Regions from separate parts of the Homo sapiens genome. Here all the other regions are linked to region 1. The links are contacts of gene promoters, found by promoter capture Hi-C in blood cells and fetal thymus (Javierre and others, 2016). All regions are on one chromosome and are shown on one strand. Each heading gives the region's core, a stretch centred on a gene start or on the middle of the fragment in contact. The rest is flanking DNA. Distances are from core to core; before and after follow the strand shown. Region 1 holds the start of ZNF362 (zinc finger protein 362). Region 2 overlaps RNF19B (ring finger protein 19B). Region 3 overlaps CSMD2 (CUB and Sushi multiple domains 2).

The links. Contacts are between HindIII fragments. The CHiCAGO score rates a contact against its expected background, and 5 or more counts as called.
Region 2: a contact is called between a fragment that was not itself captured here and the fragment with the promoter of ZNF362 in region 1, in 1 of 17 cell types (total CD8 T cells). The highest score is 5.6, in total CD8 T cells.
Region 3: a fragment that was not itself captured here is called in contact with the fragment with the promoter of ZNF362 in region 1 in 2 of 17 cell types (M0 macrophages and M1 macrophages); the score reaches 7.1 in M0 macrophages.

What each region holds. Positions count from the first base shown.
Region 1 is chr1:33,254,880-33,259,337 of GRCh38, forward strand. ZNF362 (zinc finger protein 362) reads left to right here and starts at 1,613. Exons shown (of 9, transcript NM_152493.3): 1 at 1,613-1,775. RefSeq lists silencers at 1,002-1,101, 1,544-1,603 and an enhancer at 2,069-2,363. The HindIII fragment of the contact is 6,922 bases long and covers 1-4,458 here.
Region 2 is chr1:32,953,317-32,957,692 of GRCh38, forward strand. The region is part of intron 1 of RNF19B (ring finger protein 19B); the gene reads right to left. Among named protein-coding and RNA genes, the nearest start is that of RNF19B, 9.3 kb to the right of the region's middle. The HindIII fragment of the contact is 5,060 bases long and covers 1-4,376 here.
Region 3 is chr1:33,605,544-33,609,368 of GRCh38, forward strand. All of the region lies in intron 41 of CSMD2 (CUB and Sushi multiple domains 2), which reads right to left. Among named protein-coding and RNA genes, the nearest start is that of ZSCAN20, 130 kb to the left of the region's middle. RefSeq lists enhancers at 1-641, 1,919-2,419, 2,420-2,920. The HindIII fragment of the contact is 2,316 bases long and covers 1,346-3,661 here.

The DNA of each region.
Region 1 (4,458 bases), core at 363-2,862:
ATTTATTATCTCATTGAATTTCTCAACAATGGGTTGGTCCTCTGATTATCGTCATTTCTGGAAACTGGAAGGCCTTCCTTTCTTCCCCACCTCGCTCACCCCAGAGCCAATTTCTGAAGCCCTCTCCACCTCTCCAGGAAAGAGTGGCCTCCTCTGTGCTCTCCCGCCATGCTTTAACATTCCAACTAATTCATGCCACACAGATTTCTTGTGCCCCTGCTCTGTGCCAGGCACTGTGCTTGGGGATTGAGAACAAGCAGTCCCTATGGGCCCTGTCTTCGAGTTGCTCACAGTGTTTGCCATCCTGTGCTGGACTAGAATCTTCGTGAGGGCAGGGGCATTATCCAGTTTTTTAATAGCTGTGCTCCAGCCAACCAGCTATTAAAAACAGTGGTTGATGTTTACTAGGTCCTCTATGAATATTTACTGAATTTGGAAATGCTTCCTGGAGGACAAACGCTGGCAGATGATTGTTTATCTCTGTGCCCTTCCCGGGGGACTGTGCGCTCCCTGAGGGCAGGGCCAGCCCTGATCCATCCTGGCCCAGCGGTCGGGGGGTGGTGGATGCCATAGAAATCTAAGCCGGTGAAGGGATCCTGGAACCGGCTGCCTCCTCAGGTAGAAGTGTAAGTTTGGAAGCTGACACAGCTCGGGAGGCCGAATCAGGAGGACTTGGTGACTGATTGGCTGGGGAGGGTGAGGCGGGAGGAGGAGTCACACAGATGGCTCTGAGGTCTGGAGCCGGGGGACAGCCGGTGCCACCTCTGATAGACTCTGCGAGAGGAGCCACTGCCAGCTTCGGGCCGCCCCATCCGTCGGGGATCCGGCCTAGGGCTAGGGAGGGGTGGCTGGGCCTGTGCAAACTTCTACTCCCCACCCCTATGTCCTCGTCTTAAAAAAAAAATCGGCCTGGATTTTGAGCAGGTCGTTATCAGGGGTGAGGGTCCATCCTGGGGGTCCCCTCCAGGCGGCCGTCTTCGAGGGAGACCCCCAGGGGCAGCCTGGCACCGCGCGGGCTCGGCCTGGTCAGGGCCGTGGCCCGCCAGGCCCAAGTCCCCAGCCTGCCATCACCCAGGAGTGGGGTGGCGAGGCGGCCGCCGGGCCTGGGCAGGACAATGGCCACGGCCGCCGGGGCCCCGGGAGCCCCCGCGCTGGGGAAGGGGCTGTCCTAGGGCCGGGCGCCGGTGCCCTCCCCGCGCGGCTCAGGCGGGCGGAGGGGGGCGAGGAGTTCCTTTGTGGCTCTGCCTCCGGCGCGGCGCGGGCGGGGGGCGCAGCGCAACTTTGCCAGGCGGTGGCGGCGGCGGCGGCGGCGGCGACGGCGAGCGCGAGACGAGGCCCCGGGGCCCGAGTGGGGGCCCCAGCGCGCGGCCCGCCCCCGCCCCCCGCCCGGCCCCCTCCCCTCTCGCGCAGTCGCCAGCGCCCGGCGCTGCCCACTCGCGGGAGCCCCCGGGGCCGGACGGGCTGCGCAGCCGGAGAGGCGGGGGCCCGACGCGGCCCCCCCGGAGCCGGGCGCCTGGCGCGGGGGCTCGCCGAGCGCACTGGGGGCCGCGCGGCGCTGCAGACCCAGCCTCCCGCCGCCGCCGCCGCCGCCGCCTCGGCGCTTGCAGAACCCAGAAGTGAACAGCAGGCGACCCGGAAGGTTTGCGCGCGGCTCCGCAGCGAGCCAGAGCCGGAGCCCGAGCCCGGAGCCTGTGCCGGAGCCCCAGCCCGGCCCTGCTCGGGCCGCCGGGCGCGGGGCTGCGGCCGCGTCCCGGAGGCGCCGCCAGCACAGCCAGGTCCGTGCGGGCCCGGGGCGCGCGGGGAGCGGGCCCAGCGGCGGCGGGCGCCTGCCCGCGGGAAAGTTGCGCCGAGTTGCGGGCGGGGGCCGGGCCGGGGCGCGGGCGCTGTCAGCGCGGGCCGGGGCGCTCCGAGGGCCCGGGGCCGCCTGCGCCTCGGGCCCGGCCCAGAGCGGCGGCGGCGGCGGCGGCAGCGGGGCGCGCGGGGTAGGAAGTGTCTCCCGCGGCGTGTCTGGGGCTGGTCTCCGAGTGTGTGTGCGTGTGTGTGTGTGCGCGCGCGTGTGTGTGTGTTTTCTTAAGCCGGGCTATTCAAACCCTGCTGCAATTCTCCGGTAAACAATGATTCATGGGGCATAATGCAAATAAACGGATTGCAAACGGCGCGGTTCGCGCACTTTGCAGCCGGCCCGGTGGAGCAGCCAGTGCCGGATTTCTCCCTTTTTTTGCAGATCTGCAGAATATGGCGTCCCTGTCCTGTTTTAAAAATAAGCCAGGCTGCCATTTTTGTTTTTCTTTTGTCTGAAAATTTTAATAAAACTGTCTGAGAATGTGGGAGAGGCGGCTGGAAGCAGAGGGGGCACCCGAAGGGTTGGCTTTTTTCCTTTTCTTTGGCGAGAGCCGCGAGCCTTTCGGGGAGGTGAGACACAATGCAATTGCACTTTAAAGAAAAAAAAAAAGGGAAGCTGCCGGGCGATTTGAGGGGGGAGGGCTGGGAATTTAAAGTTAACTCCGAAAGTTTGCTTTGCTTTGCTTCTCTTTCTTTCTTTCTTTCTTTTTTTTTTTTTTTGGAAGGCGGTGAAATGCCGCGAAAGGATCTCGAGGCCCATTTCTCCCCCAGCCAGCTGCCTTTGCAGGATTTTTGGGAAAAGTTAACTGCCGGTTTCCTCAGAGCTGCGCGGGATGGGGGTGGGGGGGCGGATGTGGAGGGTTGAGGATGGGAGTTTTGGGGGAACTGGGAAACATTTATTTGGAAGGGGCTCTATAAACATGGCATTGTAAGGAGCTAGATCCTCAGATCTGGGGGAGAGGGCCGGCAAGAGGGGCTCAGAATGGGTCCAGGATTTCCAGCAAAGACCCCTGGCATGAGGAAATAATCCTGCTGTCCCACCACCCTGCCCTCGAGCAGTGTGGAACCTTCGGGAGCTGTGTGTGTGGCAGTGGGCCTGTCTCCTTCATGGGTGGCCAGGACCCCCCGTGTAGGCTGGAATCTCGCCCAAGCCCTGGGGTGACCCTTGGACCCTGAGGCAAGTGAGCTTGGCCCTTTGCAGTTGGAGAGCCCCCTCCCCAACCTGGTGGTCCTCCTGCCCCCAGAGGTGGCAGCTGGTGGTAATGTCTTCCCCGACCCCACCCTATGATGAACTTTTGGTTGGGTGCAGGCCTGCGGCCCAGTGGGTCCCGTCTGAGGGAAGGGGCAGGAAAGGTAGTCTGGTTTGCTAGACCTCCTCGGTGTGAGCCTCACCCCTGTAGTATGCTCTTATTCCTTTCTGCCACTCCTGCCCTACGCCCGGGAGGTAGAAGCACTTTGGACTTCGGTTAAGTTCCTGAAGTATCTTGCTGGACAGGTCAGGGCCTGCTGGCTCCGCAGGCTGCCGAGGGGGATCTGAAGGCCAGGCCCACAAGGTCTGGGGTGACTGGTGCTGTCCAAGGCACTGGGGCAGTGTTGGGCCTAGCCTCTCATGTGTCCCCTACCCCAGCATTTCTTGGAGGGGAGACCCTTCTAGTCTCACTCCTGGTTTGTGTCCTGGCTCCACTAGACAGAGTGAGCTCCCAGAAGCCAGAGTCGGGGGTTGAAAGCTGGGGTTAGGGGTTCAGGGCTGTGGAACATGGCATGTCTTGGCCAGAGGGTACCAAGCCAGGTGGTTTTTAGATGGAGGAACTGAGGTCCAGAGAGAGGAAGTGACTTGCCTGAAGTCACGCTACCAGGTAGAAGGAGACTGAGACCGGGACCTGGGTGTTCAGGCTTCCACTGCTGGGCTCCCTCCACTGTTCTCCATGACGGGCCTGGACCCCTGGAAGATCCGTTTTGAACAGAACTGGACTAGAATGGGACAGCACGATCCCTTCACCCCCTCCTACCCCCGCCATCATAATCTTTCCTGAGAGAATTGAACTTCACAGTTTTCACAGTATGGTGTGGTGATTATCACATCAGGTTCTCCCAGAAACTCAGTTAGGGTTAAATTGTCCTAATGGGGATTATGAACCTCATTATAAGGAAACCAAGACTCAGAGAGGTTGAACAGTGGCAGAGGAGGCTTAAATTCAGGCCTGCAGGCTCCTCGCCTGGCCTTTTCCCAGGTGGACTTTGGTGCTGTGGGAAGGACTCTTCTAGGTTTTGGACTCTCTAATTCTTCTGCTGAACCCAGTGACTGTGTAAACATCCAGAGGCCCACCCCACCCAAAGAATGTCAGACTGAAAAGGCTCAGATGTCAGGAGGTCACCTGGGCTCAGAGAGGGGAAGCTACTGGCTGGAAGTCAGTGATTTGGGTCTCAGAACCAGACCCTGATCTCCTGCCTCCCTTCCTCTGTGACACTCAGAGGGACAATGAGCCCCTCTACCCATTGCCAGGCTGCACGGGCCCCAGGATGGCAGGAATTGCTAGTGGATGGTGGTGCTGGTGATGGTGTCATGGAATAACGGCCAGCGCTCCATGGAGACATGAACTTATCCCAGGGACTGAG
Region 2 (4,376 bases), core at 1,229-3,728, 300 kb before region 1:
TGTTGCCATCTGCACTCTGTCCTCTATTCCAATACTCTCCCGCAATATTCAAAGACCTCAAATAACGTGTACAAAAAGCTAATAACATTTTCTGGGATTTATTCTACAGTTTGCTTGTTTATTTGAATGTACATGAGATGTTAATCATAGCAACTCAAGTTCTCAGGTTTATCATAGAGTCTGCAAATTGACTTGAGAATGATGCTGAAAATATAAATGACAATGTATCCCCTATGTTATATAATACAGGCTGTATTAAAACTCTTTTCAGAAAGAACAAAGTGAGAACAGGTCAGTCTATGAATGCAAATGATTCATATCCTGTAGGAGTTCTGGGCAAATTTACCCCACCTAGCTGCAAAATAACTACTAAAGATAAACAACGTGTCTCCTCAAGACAGTGACTAGCTTGTTATTTTGCATTAAATGGGAAAGTTACTGGATGACCTCAGAAAAGCACTAAGTCAACTTCTAAAGATACAAATTAAGTGGACATCCAGTAGGGAGCCTTGAACACTTCATCATCCATTCCTACCTCACATGGCAGAAGTAAATGTTTATTAACATTCCCCCAGCCCCCACTTCTTTTTTTTTTTTTTTTTTTTTTTTGAGACGGAGTTTCACTCTTGTTGCCCAGGCTGGAGTGCAATGGCGTGCTCTCGGCTTACTGCAACCTCTGCCTCCTGGGTTCAAGCGATTCTCCTGCCTCAGCCTCCCAAGTAGCTGGGCTTACAGGCGCCCGCCACCATGCCCAGCTACATTTTTTGTATTTTTAGTAGAGATGGGGTTTCACCATGTTGGCCAGGCTGGTCTCGAACTCCTGGCCTTCAAGTGATCCTCCTGCCTCAGCCTCCCAAAGTGCTGGGATTACAAGTGTGAGCCACCGTGCCCAGCCCACTTTTTTTTTTTTCTTGAAAAAGAAGAACATTGGATAGGATCAACAATGTCAATTTTGAGTGTGTAATTTGGTGCCAAGGAAGTAAAATAACCCCAAATTACTCATGAATCCACAGCAATCTATTACTACGACACAGAATTACTCAGGGCACGAGATTTGGCATTCCTGTTTTTGGGTACCTGGTCTGAGCTCTTGCCTCTGACTCATGCTGCATGACATGAAGCTATTAAAATCTCCAAACCGGCCTGGTGCAGTCACTCACGCCTGTAATCCCAGCACTCTGGGAGGCCGAGGCAGGTGGATCACCTGAGGTCAGGAGTTCAAGACCAGCCTGGCCAACATGGTGAAATCCCGTCTCAACTAAAAATACAAAAATTAGCCAGGCATGGTGGCGCATGCCTGTAATCCAGCTACTCGGGAGGCTGAGGCAGGAGAATTGCTTGAAACTGGGAGGCGGAGGTTGCAGTGAGCCAAGACCACACCACTGCACTCCAGCCTGGGCAACAAAAGAGGAATTCCATCTCAAAAAAAAAAAAAAACAATCTCCAAACCTTAGCTTCTATTCCACCAAATGGAGGTATAGGTACTTGTCACATTCAAACGTAGCTAAACACGTTCTAAAACTGCATGTGAGACCTTGTCCTCAAAGATATATGGCGTAAAAACATCGTACACTCTGTCCTACTTTCTGGCTTTTACATACTCTATTCCTTCTACCTAGAAATGTCTTGTCCTTACTTCTTGCCCTGACAAGTACCCATTTAAGAACCAACTCAGGTGTCATTTTCTCTGTAAAATATACTTAACCTCTCTAGGCAGCTCGTTGCCTACTTCGTGGGTGTGCACAATTATTTTATAACACTTACATTATAATGTAACTAACTGTTTATATGCTTGCCTTCCAAACCACACTGGACTTAAGGAGACATATCATCCACTTTTTAATCTCAGTCTAGTATACTGGTTCATGCTCAAAATACCTGTGTTGCATGAATGACAGAGACCCTCTCTTGTTTTGGTTGTTTGACCTTCCCTAGGACATTCTAGGTCTTCTCCTAGGCCATCACTCTGCTCTAAAGCAATCTTTTCAATGTATCCATGTATCTATTGGCTTATTATATGCCAGGTACTATAACCTAATCCTAAAATTTCATATAAACCCACTTTAGTGGTAAACCCCTAAGTTCTGAATACGGTAATCTTCTTCCCGAATAGTTGGAAAAAAAAAACCTCGCCTGGGCATGGTGGATCACACCTGTAATCCCAGCACTTTGGGAAGCCAAGGTGGGTGGATTGCTTGAGCTCAGGAGTTCGAGACCAGTCTGGGCAACATGGCAAAACCCCATCTCTACAAAAAAAAAAAATACAAAAATTAGCTAGGCGTGGTGGTGCATGCCTGTAGTGCATGCCTGTAGTCCCAGCTACTCAGGAGGCTGAGGTGGGAGGACGGCTACAGCCCGGGAGGTGGAGGCTGCAGTGAGCCAAGATCGTGCCACTGCACTCCAGCCTGGGAGACAGAGCTAAACCCTGTCTCAAAAAAAAAAAAAAAAGAAAAGAAAATACCTCATCCTTGAAACCCAATCTGCCCTGTCCACTTTGTTCCTTCTCTTCCACGTCCCATGCTGGTGCATCTCTCCTACTCTGCTCTTTTAGCTTAACCAATCAGTCAGGCTTGCTAATCAGAAGCTAAAAGAAAGGTGTAGAAAATTACATGCTGTGAAGAATACAGACACAGCTGGGTGCAGTGGCTCATGCCCATAACCCCAGAACTTTGTCAGGCAAAGGCAGGAGGATCACTTGAACCCAAGAGTTCAAGACCAGCCAGGGCAACATGGTGAAATCCCATCTCTACGAAAGACACAAAAATTAGGCCGGGCATGGTGGCTCATGCCTGTAATCCCAGCACTTTGGGAGGCTGAGGTGGGTGGATCACCTGAGGTCAGGAGTTCGAGACCAGCCTGGCCAACCTGACAAAACCCCTCTCTACTAAAAATACAAAAAAATTAGCTGGGCATGGTGGCGTGCACTTGTAGTCCCAGCTACTCCCAGCTACTCGGGAGGCTGAGGCAGGAGAATCACTTGAATCCAGGAGGCAGAGGTTGCTGTGAGCCGAGATTGCACCACTGCACTCCAGCCTGGGTGACAGAGTGAGACTCTCTCTTCAAATAACAACAACAACAAAAATTAGCCGAGTGTGGTGGGGCGCGGTGGCGTGTGGTGGCACATGCCTGCAGTCCCAGCTACTTAGGAGGCTGAGGTGGGAGGATCACCTGAGCCTGGGAGGTTGAGGTTCTAGTGAGCTGAAATTGCACCACTGCACTCCAGCACGGGCAACAGAGTTACAGAGTTAAACCCTATCTCAAAAAAATAAAAAATAATAAAAAAGAAAAAGACTACAGACCGCCCACCCCAGCCCCTGCTGCTTAAGTTCATACAACTTTTACTCATTTTATTAATTTCCTAAATCTTCAGAAACTTCATAAAGTGACAAGCTAGACCACAGCATTACTTAGCTTCAGCCCTGGAAAGAGATTTCCATTAGTATAAATTTGATTATGCTCCAATAGACTTCAGTGGTTAAAGAAATGTGTTCCTATATTATGTCTGTACTTTCCATCCCCAAGTCATGTAACATAACTAGGCTACCCATTTACAAATAGACCCCTAGTAGGCATCAGGGTGGTAGACATGCGCCAACTTGTCACAATGAACTGTACCCTTAACATCTTCATTTTTCCTGCCCTATTTAAGACCCATCTCTAGGCTAGACAACTCCAAGAGCCTCCTTATCTGCTCTCCCTATTCCCCACTCCATCCAAATTCCATTCTGGAAGGTTACTCTTTTGCTTAAAATCCTTCAAAGAAAAAGAAAAAAGAAAAAAAGTGCTTCAACCCAAAACTTATTTCCATGGCTTACACAGGCCTATCAACCTGAATCCAGTCCACGTTTTCAGGTTGATCTCTAGTCATTTCCCAGGTATGGGGTCTTGCTATTACCCAGGCTGGTCTCGAACTCCTGGGCTCAACTAATCCTCCCACCTCAGCCTCCTAAGCAGCTGGGACCACAGGTGCACACCACCATGCCTGCTCCTCTGTGAAGTCTTTCTTGAAACCATCATGCAAATTCTATTGTTCTTTCATCTATCTAAGAGCACCCGTATTTTCTTTAGTATTTATCATATGACATTTGAATAATTTTCTATCTATCTATGTATCAATTATCTGTCTCCTCTACCAGGTGAAACTTCCTATCAAGAAAACCATGTCTAAGTTCTTTTTGAAATACCCAGTACTCACCCAGGGTTCAACAGTGTATCATTCTGAAAGTATCTGTTGAAGCCAGGTGTGGTGGCTCACACCTGTAATCCCAGCACTTTGGGAGGGTGAGGCGGGTGGCTCGCTTGAAGTCAGGAATTCAAGCCCAGCCTGGCCAACATGGTGAAACCCTGTTTCTACTAAAAATACAAACATTAGCTGG
Region 3 (3,825 bases), core at 1,254-3,753, 350 kb after region 1:
TGAAGCCTCAAGATTTGGACTCAGATGGACCTTTGTCATGTACAAGTCATTGGCTTTGGGTAAGTAATTTAACTTGTGTACGCCTCAGTTTTCCTGTGTATAGAATGATTATTTTGAGGACTAAGTAGGATAACACATACATAGCTCTTTCCACAGTACTGGCACATGGTGAAAGCTCAGTAAATAGTATCTATTATTAGTAATTCCGTAGGAAAAGGAGGCTCAAGGAAGACATTGCTCAATTGAACCTCTATTCACTGAGTGCCACTGGGGGCCAGGCACCAGCCTAACTCCTTTCATGTTGCTTATCTCATTGAACCTTCACAACCAGGATCAAGATCCCAGACATAGGAAGCGGCGACGGGAGGAGTTGAGTTGGTTCTTTCCAACTCCGAGAGATCAAAACCTCTCAGGAAGGAAGAAATCTGGTGGGAGTAAGTCAAATCTGTGGCAAGGAGAGAAGCTTTTCAGAGGGAGTAGCTGGGCTAAGGGACGTGTGGCTGTCACAAAGCAAGTCCCTCCAAAGGGCAGGGAAGCTGTTTCCATGAGAGTGGGTGGCCTGACTCCACAGGAGATGCCTCCATGGAAGCAGCTGAGGCCAGTCCATTGGGGAGAGGCTGCTGAGGGATTCCTGAGCAAGGCCTTTGATGAATTGGGTCCACAGGACACAGAACAGCCTTCGTGGCAGTAATTGCGCCCACTCCACTCAGGAAATTGGCAGCGGGAGGAGACAGAACGTTCCTACAGTGGGAATCCTCAGTGGAAGTAGTTGGGACTGGATAGATGCTTCTTAGAAGTACATGTGTTTCTCATACGTAATAACAACATCAATAACGCGGATCTTGAAGATAACATTTCCTGAGCACTCACGTGGCTGTGTTATGTTTCCATTCAGTACCTCACAGGGAAGTCTCAGGGGGAGGAACTGGGCAGGTTTCCCTGGGAAATCATTGAGGTAATTGGGTGTGCCAAAAACTGAGCAACCACATGGGTGGGGTGGCTGCTTAGCCCCAGGACAGGCCTGGCCCTGCAGCACGGGGGTTTGGGCCGTTTGGCAACGAAAGTCTCAGCGGAAGCAGGGGGCCTTTTGCCCAGGGAGGCAACCCAATGGGATGGGTTGGGTCTTTACAGAAAGGCTCAGGGTAGCCACGTGGACTCAGAGACGGGGAGAGAAGGAAGGGAGTGGCTGTGTGTGGGAAGCCAGGAGCAGCCTTGATGAGAGCAGCTGGGCCTCTCCTACAGGAATCATCTCCAGTGGAAGGATCTAGGCTCTTCAAAAAGACAGAAACTTCAGTGAGAGTACCTCAACACTGAGAGAAACCTCAGAGCCTGTTCCCCTGCAAGAAGCTTCAAAGGGAGAGGTTGGCCATATAAGGCAGAAATAAACCCTAAGAGGAGGAAGGATGAACTTCCCCAAAGAAGGACTCCTCAGGAAAGCAAGTGGGTTTGTTCTAAAGGGACACACCTGGTGACAGTGGGAACACACTTCCAAACAAAGTGCCATAATCAGGTAGATACAATTTCAAGCAAAATGCCATTATTTTAAAACATTAATAATGATGATGCCTAGCATTTGGGGACAATTGTACATCTTAGCCATTTTGCTAAGTTCTTTATAAACAGAACCCTCCTGAGAAATTGTCATGGAACACATTAAGCATGTCGGACCGGGAGGCCTGGCTAGGAGTTGCTTATGCTGCTACTAAGAACTTGATGGGAATCTTTACTTAAAGAAGAGAAAAGAAGACCCTAGCATGGGAAGTGCAGAGTATCAGTTGGAGGAATTTTGAGAAAGAGTAAAGAGTTGGACTTCTAAGGAAAGTCGAGGGGCCATAGAGAGCTGGGTCTGACAGAAACAGCCTCAGTGGGGACAAATGGCTCGTTCATTGAAGCTGGGTTTTTCCCCAGAGGAAAAACCTGGGGAGAGTGGTCAGAGCTTGCTTACGAGGTGCCGCTCCGTACGGCGGAGGAAGGTGTAAACAGAGAGTGTGGGCTTATGGTCAGGGAGAGTTATTTGGGCCTATCACAAATGATGAGGCCTCTGTGGGAATACTTAGGCCTCTGGCCCTAGAGGCAACCTAGCCCAAGAGGTTGGGATCGCCCCAAACGAGAAGCCTTAATAGGGGTGGAGCCCAAGTCTGAGGGGAGCAGGTGCCCCGGCACCATGTGTGGCTCCACAGGAGTCCTTGGGACTGTGGCAGACAGGTGAACGCTGAGGGAGTGGCTGTGCCTGGGACTGAAGGGGAACATCCAGGCAAGTCCTGAAGGTCACATGCTTGTGGGAGGAGGGGGCCCATTATAGGGTGGAAGCCCCATTGGATGTCGCTGTGCCTCTCACATGTTGGGCCAACTCCTGGTGGAGGAGCTGGGTGTCTGAAGGCAACTCGCTGCCCCCTGGCCTCCCTACGCAGGGAAAGTTATCAGAGGAGGACTGGGCCTGTGGAGGCTGCAAACCTCAGTGGGAGAGACAGGCCCATCCCAGGGAGGGACACTAGTCCCGAATGTTGGCTTGTCGTCCAGGAAACCTCAGGGGGACAGCGGGGCCCCTTGTGCAGGGTGGCCATAGTGGGAGCATTTCCAAAGATGGGGGCTGGGGAATCAGGGGCGAGTGAGCCCAAGGCCAGGGCTCTGTGGGGGTAGTTAGGCCTCTTCTGTCGAGGGAGTCAATGGAGAATCTGAGGCGGTCACACAGGCACAACCTTTACAAGGACAAGTGGGCTCATCACACGGGGAGCACAGCGAGTGGCTGGTCCCATCACAGGGATTCAGTGGCAGGACCGTGCCCATTGTCTAGGGTGAAGGCACAGTGCACGGGGTGGGCCCAGGGCAGCTGTCCCTGGCACAATGGTGGCACTGCCATTCCTTATATTTATCCGAGAAGGAAGGTCTCAGGGAGAGAGCACTTGGGCCTGGGAGGGGTGCAAGGGGCTGAAATATGTCTCCCAAAATTCATATGCTGAAGACTTCACTCCTTGTGAATATGACCTTATGGGAAATAGACAGGATCTTTACCAAACTTATGGAAATTAAAATGAGGTCACTAGGGTGGGCTCTGATCCAATATGACTGGTGTCTTTATAGAAGGTGGGAATTTGGAGACAGAGGCACATGAAGAGCACCATGTGAAGATGAAGCCAGAGGTCGGGGTGATACTTCTAAGAGCTGAGAATGCCAAGATTGTCATGAACTACCAGAAGCCAGGGGAGGGGCCCGGACAGAGTCTCCCTCATGGGCCTCAGAAGGAACCAACTCTGCTGACACCTTGATCTTGACCATCCAGCCCCAGAGCCATTGGACAGTAAGTTTCCGTTGTTTAAGCCACCCAGTTTGTGGTACTTTCTTATGGCAGCCCTAACAAACTAAGACACAGGAAAGCCTTGGGGGAAGGCGTTGCATCTGTCTCTGAGAGGACATATTTGGGACCAAGTCCCTCCTGTGACATCACGGCCATCCGACGCGTCATGACCTGTTTGACAGGTACACACCTCCCAGATAATAGGCACAGACATCCTTGGGCAAGGCTGGCCTCTGTGATGAGCCTGCACACACCTTCCCTGGGTGTGGCAGCTGTGCTAACACCAGTGAAGTGGCTCTGTCTGGGTGCAAGGCCCAGCTTCTCCTGAGGCTCCCTCTAGATGACAAGCCCAGCCGCACTTACCAAAGCTTTCCCTGAGATGGACCCCGGAACCCTGAAGTCTCCTGCAGAACTGATTCAGTTGCACCCACCTCGTGGGATGCCCTTTAAGGCTTTCCCTAAATGAGAAGCCCAGTACCCCCTCAGTATTCTTCTCTGGCAAGGGAGGAGCTCCATCCCCACCATATTAT